Linked DNA regions of Homo sapiens: region 1 is linked to region 2. Evidence: promoter capture Hi-C in human tissues and cell types (Jung and others, 2019). All regions are on one chromosome and are shown on one strand. The core of a region is centred on a gene start or on the middle of the fragment in contact, and the rest is flanking DNA. Distances in the headings are between cores, read along the strand shown.

Region 1 (2,700 bases), core at 107-2,606, 320 kb before region 2:
GGACCCGCCACGGTTGGCCAAGCTCAGGCCATATGAGCTGGGACTGGCAGGCAGTTCCTGGCTGCCTCAAATCTGGGGTCCAGACTCTCTGCTGACCTCCCAGAGCCCGGCGTGTCTTTGCACACTCTGTCCTTGTCCCCAGCCTCCTCCCCGCCCCAGGGTGTGCCTGGGACTTTAGGTAGTCTTACCTGTCAGTCATACTTTCTTCTCGGCCAGGGACTGTGGACGGCAGGACGTTCACCCCGTGGTCAGTGGCTGGGCCTTTCTCATGAAGCAGCTTGATTGAGATGTCATCTACAGAGCGTGCAGCCATCATCACAGTCTATCTTGGAATGAATGCCTTTATCACCCTGGAAGGAAACGTGCCCCATAGCCATCCCCTCCCAGCCATCGGCAGCCACTGTCTGTGTTCTGTCTCTAGACTCCCCTACCGGCAGTGTTGCAGGGAGATGGGCTCAGCGATGAGTGGTCTCTGGCGTCTGGCGTCTTTCACTGAACGTAAGGTTTTCACGGTTCGCTCACATTGGACCACGTGCTGACGCTCCATTTGTTACTGATGAATCATACAGTCTAGTGTGTGGATAGACCATGTTGTTTATCCGTTCATCCATTGATAGAACATTTGAATTGCTTCCGTTTAGGGCTATTACACACAGTGCCGCTGTGAACATTCGTGTACAAGCTTGTGTGTGGAAATGCATTTTTGTTTCTCTCGGGTGTACACCCATAAGAGGAAGTGCCGGGGTCACGTGGTAATTTAACGTTGAGCTTTGTAAGGAGCTGCCTCTTCTCCCAGGTTCTCCCCGTCCTCCCCAACACGCGCCACTGTCTGCTTTTATGATGCTTTTCCATCCCAGGGGCTGCGGGTGCCGCTGGGTTACAGGGTCCGTGAACCTCCTGAGATTCAAATGCAAAATGTGAAGTGGGTGTTGGCGTGGGTTTCGGGTAGAGGGACTGCAGCCCCTGCACGGGGTTAGGAATATGTTTCCCAGTCCAGGCAGAGCTACGCAGGAATCGCCTCTAGACACCCAAGAGGGAGCAGTTTTGTCTGGAGAAGTAGCCCACTGCCGTGTTTCACCAGGCTGGCCTGTGATAGCTGGACCTGCCCCGATGCCACCACCTCCTCCTGCCAGGGCTTCCCTGTTTGCTGAGTCTGCGTTATTGATGAGTCATCGTCTATATACACGCACCCGTGAGGCCGTCAAGGCAGTGAACAGACCCTTCGCCCCCAGATCCCAGGCCCTGTGCAGCCTGCCTTGCCCCTCCCACTGCAACCCGACCCCAAGCAGCCACTGATCCTTCTGTGTTTCCTGTCACCACGGGTTCATCCATGTTTTCTAGAGTTTCTGTAAGTGGAATCACGCAGTATCTAGCCTTTCTCGTCTGGCTTCTTCCACTAAGCGTAGTTAGTTTGAGATTTATCCATGTTGCTGTGGTATCAACAGTTTATCCCTTTACAGTCATACAGATAGACCACAGTGTCTTCATCCATCCAGATGTTGACGGGCATTCCGGTGGCTTCCAGCTTGGGGCTGTTGCAAATAAAGTGTACAGTGAACATTCACATGCAAGCTTTGCACGGACATTTATTTCTTTTCTCTTGGCTAAATCGGAGTGGAACTGCTTGATTGTGTGGTCGGTGCATGCTTAACTTTACAAGAAGTTGCCAAGCTGTTTTCCAAAGTGCCTGCACCATTTTCCATTCCTATCAGCAGTATAGGAGACTTGTAGTTTCTCCACACGGTCACCAGTACTTGACATGATCAGTCTTTTTAATTTCAGTCCTTCTAAGAGGTGACTGATGGCGTCTCATTGTGGTTTTAATTTGCATTTTCCTCATGACGAATGACACTGAGCATCTGTACCTGTGCCAACTTGCTGGTCTTCGCTGAAGTGCCTGTTCACATCTTCTGCTAATTATTTATGGGGTTCTATGTTTCCTTAATGAGTTTTGAGAGTTCTTTGTATACTCCAGATGCAAATCCTTCATCAAATATGTACATTGCTGGTGTTCTCTCCTTATATATGACATGTTTTTTCATTCTCTTAACAATGTCTTTTGAAGAGCAGACATTTTTAATTTTGATTAAGTCTAACTTACCCGTCTTTTATTTTATAGAGTGTGCTTTTGCTGTCGTATCTAAGAAATCTTTACCTAACCCAAGGTCACAAAGACTGCCTCCATTTTTTTTCTTCTAGAAGTTTTATAGTTCTAAATTTTACATTTGTGTTCATGATCCATTTTGAGTTTTTTTTTATATGGTGCAAGGTCTGGATTGACTCTTTTTCATTTTTTATTGCATATGAACGTCCAGTTACTCCAGTATCAAGATCATTCTTTTTTACTGAATAGCCTTTTGCATCTTTGTCAGCCTGCTAGGATTTTAATTGGAATTATGCTGACTCTATAGATCATTTTGGGGATAATTGACATCTTAATGATATGGAAACTTCTAATCTATGAACAGTTTCTCTCAGCAATGTGTTCTCATTTTCAATGTGCGGGTATCAGAGGCATTTGAACCAGAGTGACTCCATTTTGAATAAGGACTGGGTGAAATAAGACTGAGACCTACAGGACTGCTTTCCCAGAAGGTTAGGCGTTCATAGTCACAAGATGAGATAGGAGGTCCGCACAAGATGCAAGTCACAAAGACTTGGCTGATAAAACAGGTTGCAGTAAAGAAGCTGGCCCCAAAC
Region 2 (2,700 bases), core at 149-2,648:
GCCGAAATGGCCGGGCACAGTGGCTCATTCCTATAATCACAGCACTTTGAGAAGCTCAGGCAGGTGGATCACCTGAGGTCAGGAGTTCGAGACCAGCCTGGCCTTCCTTATGTCTACTAAAAATACAAAAAATTAGCCAGGGGTGGTGGCTGGCGCCTGTAATACCAGCTACTCCGGAGGCTGAGGCAGGAGAATCGCTTGAACCCGAGAGGCGGAGGTTGCAGTGAGCCGAGATTGCGCCACTGCACTGCAGCATGGCTGACAGAGCGAGACTCATTCTCAAAAAAAAATAAATAGGTCAGGCTTGGTGGCTCAGCACTTTGGGAGGCCAAGATGGGCGGATCATTTGAGGTCAGGAGTTCGAGACCAATCTGACCAATATGGTGAAACTCCATCTCTATTAAAAATACAAAAAAAGGCCGGGCGCAGTGGCTCACGCCTGTAATCCTGTAATCCCAGCACTTTGGGAGGCCGAGGCGGGCAGATCACGAGGTCAGGAGATTGAGACCGTCCTGGCTAACATGGTGAAACCCCGTCTGTACTAAAAATACAAAAAAAATTAGCTGGGCGTGGTGGCGAGCGACTGTAGTCCCAGCTACTCAGGAGGCTGAGGCAGGAGAAAGGCGTGAACCCGGGAGGCGGAGCTTGCAGTGAGCCGAGGTCACACCACTGCACTCCAGCCTGGGCGAGGGAGCGAGACTCCGTCTCAAAAAAAAAAAAAAAAAAAAAAAAAACTAGCCAGGTGTAGTGGTGCACACCTGTAGTCCCAGTTACTTGGGAGGCTGAGGCAGGAGAATCGCTTGAACTCGGGAGGCGGAGGTTGCAGTGAGCCGAGATCGTACCACTGCATTCTAGCCTGGGTGACAGGGAGACTCCATCTCAAAAAATAAAAATTTAAAAAACACCAATAATAATAATAATTAATAAACTTAATAAATAAATAAATAAAAGACAGGAAATGACGGTGAGAACCGGTGTGAGGGACTAGCTAGTGGCCAGTGCTAACAAGGAGGTGCTTGTGACCTGCTATGGACCTGGAAGCGACTAGGGCTGAGTACAAAGGGGGCAAAGGAATTTGGGGGTGATGGAAATGTTCTGTATCTTGACTGTGGTGGTGGTTATATGAGAGTTGGCATAACTTTAAAACACCAGAAAGGGTGAACTTTACTGTACAAGTGGTTCACAACTGCAATCCCAGCACTTGTGGGAGGCTGGGGCTGGAGAATTGCTTGAGCCAAGTTCGAGACCAGCCTGGGCAACATAGGGAGACTGTCTCTAAAAAAAATCAATCCCAATGATGGCATTCCCCGCCTCAGGGAATGCCAGCCCCCACTTCTTCTGTCACCTCTCCCCCATGGGCCCCGTTAACGGATACAGGGAGGAAGGCATTTCCTGCCTAGATGTCTCCGCCCCCACTGCCATGGAGACCAGCTTGGAAGCTTAGGGGAGCTGCTGTGGCCCAGGGCTCAGTGGGGAGGAAGAGGAGGCCAGGAGTCTTGGACTAGCTGCAGGGTTTGAGCTAGGCTGAAGCAGCAGAACCACAGAGGTGGCTGAGCAGGGGCCTGGCCCTGGGACCCAGCCATCCACACTCACACATCCACTTCTCCCTCCAGAGCCCGGCCCTGAAGCAGGTCTCTGCTCCACGCTTTTCCTTAGTTGGGGAATCGAGAGTTGGGGGATCAAAGCCCCCCACATCTCCCTCACCCGCTGCAGCTATGTTTATCAAGGTGATGTTTGGGGGTAAGTGGGGTCCCCTGTCTTGGTAGGCGGATAGGGGGATGAGCACACTCAGAGGCGTGCTTCCTTCCGCCCTTGCGGTGGGTGGGGAGGCAATGGCGGGAAAGGGGGGTGGTGCACATGGCGGGGGTCGTCGGGGAAGCGGCTCTGTGAGGAGGCGAAGCCAGCACCTGGAGCGAGTCCCTTAAAGGGAAAACCCGAGCTGAGTCCTGCTCATTCACAAGGGTTCCTCTCGGCCAGAGACCGCCGCATTACCCTGGAGCAGGTTTTTAAGCCGCACAATCTCTTCGCCATTCAATCCGTGATCCTCAAGCTTCAGCGTGCATCAGACACCTGAAACTCTAGCCACAGTTGCAGGGTCCCCGTGCCTCTGGCTGGAGGCGGGTCGGCCCTGTGCGGTAGCGGAAGGGAAGAGAGGAGCCGGTGGGTGCGGAGGGCGGGGACTGGCTGGGTCCCGTGGGGGCGGGTCCCGGGAGGAGGCTGGGCTGGCGCCCACTTCGTGCTTTGCAGGACTCAAGAGACCAACACTTGGGAGTCACCACACATGGGAGAAAAGTCACCACACATGGGAGATGGATGGAGGGTTCTCCAAGGCAGTTTAAGCAACAGATGTTGGAGCTGTTATGCCCGGGGCACAGTCTTAGCCCATAGGCCCAGTCGCAGCTCTGGGAAAGGGAGAGATGGGAGGGAGAGACAGAGGACCCCGATTTGGAGGAAGGTAAGAGATCTCACAGGCTCACCTTTGCCCCTCTCCACAGCTGGCTGCTCGGTGCTGGTGAACACCTCTTGCAGGCTGGTGAACCTCACCGCCCACCTGAGGCAGAAAGCAGGGTTGCCCCCAGATGGTGAGGAGACAGGGAGGAGAAGGAGGGGCTGAGGGGTCCCAGGCAGGGGTGCCAGCCCTGCCCAGTCTCTCTCCATGTCCTCCCAGCGACCATTGCTCTCCTGGCTGAGGATGGCAAC

Evidence for each region. The method cuts DNA at HindIII sites, captures the fragments that hold promoters and counts their contacts. A contact is called where the count stands out against the background at its distance.
Region 1: a contact is called between a fragment that was not itself captured here and the fragment with the promoter of C22orf15 in region 2, in 3 of the 25 tissues and cell types used here (H1 embryonic stem cells, mesenchymal stem cells and small bowel).

Annotation. Positions count from the first base shown.
Region 1 is chr22:23,437,244-23,439,943 of GRCh38, forward strand. No RefSeq gene overlaps it. Among named protein-coding and RNA genes, the nearest start is that of LINC01659, 5.0 kb to the left of the region's middle. The HindIII fragment of the contact is 4,366 bases long and covers 1-2,700 here.
Region 2 is chr22:23,761,592-23,764,291 of GRCh38, forward strand. It overlaps C22orf15 (chromosome 22 open reading frame 15), which reads left to right and starts at 1,399. Exons shown (of 6, transcript NM_182520.3): 1 at 1,399-1,740; 2 at 2,496-2,582; 3 at 2,669-2,700. The coding sequence starts at 1,716. The HindIII fragment of the contact is 4,822 bases long and covers 1-1,744 here.